Regions from separate parts of the Homo sapiens genome. Here regions 1 and 2 are each linked to region 3. Evidence: promoter capture Hi-C in human tissues and cell types (Jung and others, 2019). All regions are on one chromosome and are shown on one strand. Each heading gives the region's core, a stretch centred on a gene start or on the middle of the fragment in contact. The rest is flanking DNA. Distances are from core to core; before and after follow the strand shown. Region 1 holds the start of ACTR1A (actin related protein 1A). Region 2 overlaps SUFU (SUFU negative regulator of hedgehog signaling). Region 3 holds the start of NT5C2 (5'-nucleotidase, cytosolic II).

The links. The method cuts DNA at HindIII sites, captures the fragments that hold promoters and counts their contacts. A contact is called where the count stands out against the background at its distance.
Region 1: the fragment with the promoter of ACTR1A here is called in contact with the fragment with the promoter of NT5C2 in region 3 in 1 of the 25 tissues and cell types used here (hippocampus).
Region 2: a contact is called between a fragment that was not itself captured here and the fragment with the promoter of NT5C2 in region 3, in 1 of the 25 tissues and cell types used here (aorta).

Annotation. Positions count from the first base shown.
Region 1 is chr10:102,501,112-102,503,961 of GRCh38, forward strand. ACTR1A (actin related protein 1A) reads right to left here and starts at 1,601. Exons shown (of 11, transcript NM_005736.4): 1 at 1,489-1,601. The coding sequence starts at 1,536. It also overlaps a transcript of SUFU not described here. RefSeq lists enhancers at 1-85, 1,480-1,579 and silencers at 1,930-1,999, 2,677-2,850. The HindIII fragment of the contact is 1,714 bases long and covers 1,038-2,751 here.
Region 2 is chr10:102,625,973-102,628,951 of GRCh38, forward strand. It overlaps SUFU (SUFU negative regulator of hedgehog signaling), which reads left to right. Exons shown (of 12, transcript NM_016169.4): 11 at 1,203-1,271. Among named protein-coding and RNA genes, the nearest start is that of TRIM8-DT, 16 kb to the right of the region's middle. RefSeq lists an enhancer at 2,487-2,979. The HindIII fragment of the contact is 4,548 bases long and covers 1-2,979 here.
Region 3 is chr10:103,191,901-103,194,679 of GRCh38, forward strand. It overlaps NT5C2 (5'-nucleotidase, cytosolic II), which reads right to left and starts at 1,372. Exons shown (of 19, transcript NM_001351169.2): 1 at 1,336-1,372. RefSeq lists enhancers at 113-801, 802-1,488 and a silencer at 1,187-1,466. The HindIII fragment of the contact is 10,406 bases long and covers 1-2,779 here.

The DNA of each region.
Region 1 (2,850 bases), core at 351-2,850, 690 kb before region 3:
CTCAATCCTGCCCCTTTCTAAGGGGGAATAATAAAAACAAAATACCCATGGAGAGAAGGAAAATTTAATGAAAACAACAACAAAAATATATTGGAAAAAGCAAGCAACTTGGAACTGGATCTTAGTCTGATGACTGGCTCCTCAATTCCTAAACTGGATGGTTTGAAATCTGTTATTTAACATCCCTGCATACACTGGGGATAGTAATTCCTATCTACCTAACAGAGCTGAAGCTTAAACGAGAACATTGTAATATGCCTAAGGTCCCAAGAGCTGAATCAACAAAGGGAATCTGACAGAGTCAGCTTACAACAGAGGGAACTGGTAGTTTTGCCTCAATGGAGGGACCTACAAGGGACACAGACAGGGATCAATCTCTGTGGGACCAAAGCTTTGAATCGAAGGCAGAAATGCAGTCGTTTTACAATTTTCTCCTTTCCCCCCAAAATAAGAGCAGTATTTAGATTCTTTCTATTGGTCAATATTGATGCTTCTGCATGGTGGTGCTGGCAAAAGGGATGACGGATAAAGTACTGGATTTAGGGCACCTCTGCTATGTGACCTTGGGCTCACGTTACGTCTTCGCGCTTCAGTTTTCTCATCGGTAACACGAAGATCAAAGTTCCTTTTAAACTATGCGTCCAGTTTTTGTGAGGATCCAACTCGAATGTATGTGAAAACGCCCTGGAAGCGCTAGAGCGCCAGGCAAATATTAAGTTTGGTAATTTTTTCCCCGTAAGAACTAGGCGTTCCAAAGAGGAGGACAACCTCTCTGCTTCCTTTGTCACTCTCCTTTCTTCTCGACCTTTACCAACTTTGTAATTTATAATCACAGTAATAGCTGACATCCTACAGCGGTTTCTGGCACCAGATTCTCGGGCCCCACCCAGATCCACACCACCAAGCCGCAGCGCCGGCTGAGACCGAAGGAAAACTTAGCCGTTCTCCACCCGCGGGCGGGCACTCGCCTCTAGGCCCCACCACCCAGAGTCCCGGAAGCCAATCCCCACAGCCCTGGAGCACTGCCCCGCCCCTTCAAGAGGGAAAACAATATGGCGGCAAGGAAGAATGGCAGGGGCGTGAGCCAATCACCGCAGAGGCCTAGCCTCATCCGGCAAGGCTAAGAGGCGGTATCATTGGCTAAGATGGACAGCCAGAGCAACCAATAGAGCGATCGGAAATGGGGGAGAGGGCGGGCGACGGGAATCTCACACAGCGGTTAAGGCCCCTAGAGCCAAGGGCCCAAGGACTGGCTTGGACTATAACTCTTTCCTTTATCCACTCCAGAGTTCTCCATCCCACTTTTGCTGGCTGGCCGCCTTGCCTGCGGACTATGTGATAAGGGGAGGAAGGAGGCGGCGGTGGCTGAACGCGCCTGACAGGCCGGGCCAGTGACAAAGAGCCGGCGGCTCAGGCTGAACCCCGGGAAGCGATCCTTTCGAGGAGGAGAGCCCAAGTCCCCTTATAGATAGGAAAGACGCAACTCACGTTGTCGATCACGACAGGCTGGTTGGCGATCACATCGTAGGACTCCATGGCAGAGGAATCTCTCCTTCTGGGGAAGGAACTGCCCAGCCGGGTCCGCCGCTAGCGCCACTGACACGCATGCGCAGTCTAGCCGCCGGTTCAGGGCGGCGAGGGAGCGGCCCGACCTCGCCTCTGAAGAACTACAATCCCCAGCAAGCTTTGCGCCTGGGTTAGCGATCTAGCTTGCTTTGTTGCCCGCCTAGTTTAAGATTGGGAGTCGCATTTCCAATGCGCAGTACCCTGGGATTTGTGGTCTCCCTAGATTAAACAGCCAGAGACACAGGTTGATGGTCATGTTGCATGCCTGGATCTGTAGTCCCTTTGAAGGAGTTCGCAGTGCATGCTGAGGTATGTAGTCTTCTCGAGTACTTGTCTGTAGTTCGGTTTGGATTGGTCGTAATTCATGGATGTTTGGATTTTGCAGATCAGCCCTGCCACTCCCCCCGACGTTCCCTTAGACAATATAAGGTTCTCATGTTTTTATTTGGGTCTGTAAGACTTTAATAAACATCTCCTAGCACCTCACACTCTAACAAAAAGGAAATGTTAACACACGTACGCGAGAGGACATATTCCTACAACAAAGGAAAACAATTTAAATTGCATAAAATTAGCTTTAAGTTTAAAAACCTGTACATTGTCGTTGCCTTTTGCATTTTCTTTTTTTCTGCATAACAGGCTAACATTGATCCGAAGATTGGCAATTGGAACTACTGGTATAGGTAATCTTTTGGTCATTAAAACATCATCTAAGGGTTTCAGAAACTGCTCGAGTATCTCTTTAATTTTCATAACGAGCTAGAATTGACACTGATGGTTGAGAAAATGGAGGTGAAGAGAGGTTATGTGTCACTGCTTTCAAATGAGCCCAGTGCATTTTTTTCTCTGGATTATGTTCTCCCCCAGCCCCCTTGAAATTTCAGGGACCTTTTTGTCAATAGCCCTAGAAAACATTAGATTTATTATCATCTATTAATACTAACGCCCCATGGATGAATGAATCAATCCATTGTCAGATTTATGTTTAAATCCTAGTTAGCAGCGCGTCAGCAAAACAGTAACAAATCCTTTGTTGGCGCACTTCTCGCTGCTTTCGTGGGACCTTAGCACCTCAGAGGGTGCTCAGCATCTCTAAACTTGGGTTCCTCCTAACACTAGGGGGAGACCAAGAGCCTTGGGACACTCCCAACACAGGGAGGGGAGGCGGGGCCTATTGTCAAGTCACACCTTCCCTGCCTGTGACTGGCACAGACATTAGCCAATGGGTGCTTGGATAGGGTGCGCCGGCGCCCCGCCCCCCTTAGCGCCCCGCCGCCCCGAGGC
Region 2 (2,979 bases), core at 224-2,723, 570 kb before region 3:
CAGGGAGGGTTTCCCCTCAGAGGAGCCCCTCACCTGGATCTTCACCCCATTATCTTTCTTCCTTTGTGCCCTACCTGGGTGCTCAAGGTGTACGGGAGAAGACAGGTAGAGCTGTGGCCTGGGGGTACAGAAGGGTCTGCAGTGGAGGGAGGCTGGGAGGCCCTGGGGACAAGGACAGGGAGGGGGAGGGGTGAAGGAAGGGGTCACAGTTGGAAGAGGAAAGACACCCTCACCCAGGGCGTGGTGGGGTGCAGACCTGGGATCAGCTTGGCCTGGCTCTGCCTAGCAGCCTGACGAGAGGGGTGGGTGGGGAAGAATGGCCCAGCAGATTGAGGAAGGCCGGTTTTAGAGGGCCTGAGAGCCCTTGGACGTTGGTATTGGCTGTGAAAACTTCTTTAGCGGATGAAGTTGGTGTTTGTGCCAGCCAAATAGTGGGGCCAGACTCAGCATCAAAGCGAGAGGCAATGAGGTGTCAGACTAGAACAGCAACGTGGAATGCTGGGAGGTGACCTAGAGAAGAGGAACCTCAAAGAAGGCTGGAGGAACTCAGTGGCTGATCGAGCACAGCAGGTCAGGGGCTTGGGAGCTTCCAGCCTGGGAGGATGTGGCTACTGTGAATGGGAATGGAAGTTGGGAGTCCCTTTGTCATCTGTAAAATGAGACGTTGGTCCACAATCTCCAGATTCTCCAGCTCAGACATTCTTGGATGTACCTTCCAGGGCACTTCCAGATTCCAGATAGGGCTTGTATTCCAAATCCAAACAGTTTCCTTTTGTCCTTCTACGGTGAGGGGCAGAGGGGGACACTAGAGCCTGACTGGGCAGCAGCTTTAATTTAATTTTTTTTCCTTTTAATTTTTCTTTTCTGTTCCTTTTTCTTCCTGAGATTCCTTTTTACCGGCCCCACCAGTGTTCATCTCCCTTCTGGGAGCAGCATTCCCAGCTCTCCCAGTGTCCTCCCTCCCCTCCCCATTGTCCCCTGACCCCTTTCCTTCTATGCCTCAGTCTGATATTGCAGGGAGGTGAGGGTGTGGGGGGAATGACAGCTGGGGACAGGCCTCAAACACTTCCCTGTGTCCCTTGAACAGATCACAGTGAGCTCATCTCTCCTCCATGGTCAGAAGAGAGGTATAACGCTTGGTGGTTGGCAAAAAGATCATACATTTAAAAATAATAATAAAAGCCTGCCTTGTGCCTTCACAGATTCTGTTGACCGAAGAGTTTGTAGAGAAAATGTTGGAGGATTTAGAAGATTTGACTTCTCCAGAGGAAGTAAGCTTGTTTGACTTTTCCTGACAACAGGTCCCGTCTCTGGGACCATGTGTGTGCGTGCGTGTGCACGTCTGTGCATGCATGTGTGCGTGTGTACCTGTGGTGCGTGTGTGCTTGCATGTATCTGTGTGGCTGCATCTGTGGGCTCCTCCCCAAGGTGCAGGGATAGGCTGGAGAGGAGACTGTAGATTTCTCTTCTGTTTCTATGCACCCTCACCATCCCCTGCCCTACCCCCAGCCCTTGTAAGGACACCCAGCAAATCGTCTGAATTGCCAGCTCCTGAGAGCCTCATTGAAGAGGAAGCCAGGGCCTTCAGGCTAGTACGAGTTCTCCCCAGCCCCTGCTGTTCCCTGGCAGATTCTGAACAGAACGCCCATGTCTGTTGCCAGAGAACATTCCGCTGGGGAGTTCTGGTGGGCAGCAAGGGACTCCTGCTCTCGCCTCGGGCCACCCAGGAGCCACTCTCCCTTCTTCGTCCTCCAGCCATGAGCTGTGCCTCTTAGTCTCCCTCTTCCAGCCCTGGCTCAGAGCTGGAGGAGCTGGCAGGCCAGCTGTGGCTGTGCCTTCTTTAGCTGCTCCTCTGGGGTAGAGGAATGGAGTCCATAATCCCCTTTGTTTTTTCTCCCTTGTTCCCGGCATCCTTATTTGCGAGGGCTTACCTCATCCTGGAAAATCCCTTCCCCTCCCCCGCTCCTGCCCGCAGCACCCCAGTGGGATGGGAGCTTTCCTGGCCCCAGTGCCCCATGGGTTAGTGAACTCTAGCAGGCTGGCCGGGCCTCTGGAGAGCTCTCCTGGGCCCTGCCCTGCCTGTGGCAGAGGCAGACCCTTCCCTTGTCCTGTCTGCCAGGAAATGTGCTTGGGGGAGAACTCCTTCGCCTCCCAGGGGCCAGGCTTTCTACCAAGAGGGAGGCCAGGCGGGAGCTAGGTTCCAGCCAGGGCTGGAGCTTCCAGCTTCCAGGGCTCCCTGGGCTGCAACAGCCAGGACACAGGCCTCTGGTGTTTAGGAAGCTGAGGGGAGTGCACAGGGCGGGACCGTCCAGTCCAGGTCTCCAGTTGGACAGGAACTCCCCAGAGCCAGGGTCACCTCAATAGAGCAGGGTCTCCTCTGTCCTCTGGGATGCAGCTTGAGAAATTTGTTCATTTATATATTCCAAAGCCATCAAGCACCCAGTCCATGCCAGCCAATCAACCCCCACAAGTCACTGGTCCCTGAGTCCCAGCTCCCCATTCAGTCAGACCAGAGCCAGCTGCCCAGAAGCGCTTCCGGAGAGGCCTTGTCGCACTGGGATGGCGCTGTGCCAGGCTGCTGCTTTGAGCTTGGGGGTAGGAGGGGGACAGTCCAGGCAAGAGGGACAGAAGCCTGGGGGAGCAGAGGAAAGTAGGTCACTAAAAATGACTTTTTTCTTTTTTTCCTTTTCTGTCCAGAGGCTGTCCCTACACCCTGCCTCACTCGCCACTTTGGTCCTGGCAGAGACAGTCCCCCAGCAGAGGGAGCGAAGAGGGAGGCAGCCAGGAAGGGTCAGGCTCGTCTGCCTCCAGCCCCAGACCGAGGCAGGCTGAGAACACTGTTCTCTCCTTTCCACCCTGCCCTGACTTCCGGCCTAGCCAAATTAGAAAAGACAGACCCTGGGCCGGGCGCAGTGACTCATGTCTGTAATCCCAGCACTTTGGGAGGCCGAGGCAGGTGGATCACCTGAGGTCGGGAAT
Region 3 (2,779 bases), core at 122-2,621:
AGTTTTTATTTTAATTACTAACCAGCTATGTTTTCTTGAACTTAACCTTTTTTGTTCTTTTTTTTTTTTCCACTCTCAGCTCACACCTATTTTTTTTCTCTTTTCGAACTTCACCCTTTCAGGCCTGGATGTCTTCATCTGGATAAATTCTAACCGTTGTTGAAAAGCCATGTGGTAAATATTTTTGAAACCTAAAGCCTTCTCTACGCAATAACACTAAGTTTTCATGGTAAATGACACAGTTTCAATATTCTCCCTTTCACATTATGGTCAGTAGTTTGCATTCGTTGCTTGAAGAGGCGAAATGAATAGTCTACAGACACTGGGAACCAAGTACAGCTCAATCCTGAAGAACTCATCGGCCCCTGGACGGGCGCGCACACACCCCCCTGTAATGGTGACTAGTCATTTCGGGGCGCTGTACTTCAGAGCACGACCCCCCTCAAACATCAAGGCCCTAAAGGTGAAAGCCCAGGAAAACGTCGATTCGGACAGCAGCCTCTACCTGCTGCTTTTAGAAGCTGTGGCCTGCCGGAGTCAAACCCCCAAAACGTTTTTCTTAAACTAAGGGTTCAGGCCTCAGATCGGCATCTCGCCCTCTCCGATTTCAGGAGCCCCGAAAAAAGGAGAAGAATAGGCCGCCACTGAACGGCTCAGCCCCCTGACCAGGAGCTGTCCGGATGTTTTTTGTGGCGGCTTGCAATTCGCTGTGACCTTTCCAGGAAGTGTTGCACACGGGCGTGTGGCAAACGAGCTGGCCGTTTCTCGCGGTCCTGCTAAAACGCTGTCAACCTGGCGCTCCACCAGAGGCCCCTTGGCTTCTCGGGAGGCGACCGAGGAGCTCTGGGGGCGGGGAGGCTTTTACAAGAAGCGAAAAGACGGCCTCAGGGGTGGCCGGGAACAGCCTGGAATCAGCTGGAGGACGTCAGCAGGACTGAGGAAAGGGCTACCACCAGCGTGAGGAAAGGGGGGAAGAGGGCGGAACGCGGCGAACGGCCGCGCTGGGAGGCTGAGGCGGGGTCCCAGCGAGCCGGCGGCTGGGAAACAATGGCGCGAGCGTGACGTGGGCCGGAGGCGTCGCGGCGGCGCGGAGGAAGGGGCTGCCGTGGGGCGGGGGCCGCACCGAGGGAGTTGGGAGGCGTGCGGCGTCCGCGAGCGCGCTGGCGGGGACTCGGCCTAAGGAGAGGGGCCTTGGGGCCATGGTCCCTGGGGGCCGGGGGCGGGGGCAGGCGGCGGCCGCTACCCTGGGGTCGCGTGTTCGGCCGCGCACCTCCCCACCTAGCTCCCCGTTCGCCCGCTCCTTCCCCGCCCGCCCACGGGGCCCGCCGCACTCACCGGCTCCAGCGCACCGCAACAATCCCAGCGCGCAACTGCCGCAGCCGCCTCAACGCGCGCCCTCCCCGCCCCCGCCGCCCGGCACCGCCCCGCGCCGCCCCTCTGCTCGCGCCCGGCCAGGGACCGGCGCGCTGTTCCGTCCCCCAGCTCCGCCGCAGAGTTCGGCGAAGCCGACGCTCCCTGACCGCGCTGCGTCTGTCTGTCCCGCGGGTCTGGAGATCTTCAAACGATGGAACACCGGCTTTGCCCTTCTGAGGGTCTCCATCCCTTGGCATTCTGCCTGCGCCCCTCAGCCTGGCCCTGGGCTAACCTCTCCACTGTGTCTCATTCAGAAGAAGCTTTTCCTTGGGAGGAGAGGGCATCCTTTTTCCCAGTCACAGAATGTTTTGGTCTAATGGACCTCAAGGCCCCTCATGCGTCCACACCCCCATGGCACCCTCGAATCCCCTTGATGGCTAAAAACACCAGCTTTGAAGTTTGTCAGAACGAGTTCCAGTCCCAGTACCACCACTTACAAACTGTAACCTCGGGCGAGGTACCTGACCTCCTATACCTGGTGCCCACATTTGTAGCACCAGGATAGGGAACAACAGTCCCCACATCAAAGGGTGTTGACGGGATGAAATCACACAATATAGGTGAGGCCCTCAGCAGGATCCTGGCACACAGTAAGCACTCAATAAATGTTCACCCCACCACCAGCAACTCAGCAGGAAGACTCCGCAAAAGCAGCTAGCTATTTCCAGAGGACTGAATTCCTTGGTCCGAGCAGCTCTCACCAGTGAGAAAATGTGTCTAAACTTCCACTCTCAGGGCCGAAATTCGATGCCTTGGAGCCACAGAGAACAAACGTCTAATCTCTCCTGGACCTTTGACTTTTCAGATACTTTACTTCTATCACCTCTGCCCAAGGTCTTCTCATTCCACATCAGTGTCTCCCGTTCCTTCCATTGTTCCTCCTCTGCCCTGGTTTTGAGGGTCTTTATCCCTCTCACGCAAATGGTAGATTTGACTGTGATTTCTTTAGAATACATCACCCAAGACTGAACCAAATGTTTGTGGTATCATCAGAGCAAAGCAGGACTATAGCTTCCTCCTTTTGGGACCTATCGCTTTGCACTCCTGCGATAAAGTTCTTGGCACCCATACTGTTGACTCATATTGGGCTTGCAGTCAACCAAAACCTCCGCGTCTTTTTAATAAGTGCTCCGCCAGAGCACTTCTACCCCTTCTTGTGCTTCTCAGCCAACTTCGCTTCAGGTCAGCTAAGGATAGACCTTGGGCCCCTCACCTTCTAAATTTCTCAGGATATATGGAAAAGAGGAATAGGGGTTGGAAGCTGGCATAACACAATCTTTAAACCAAGTGCATTTGAAAAAAGGCCAGGGTGGCGGGGCGTGGTAGCTCACACCTGTAATCCCATCACTTTGGGAAGCCAAGGCAG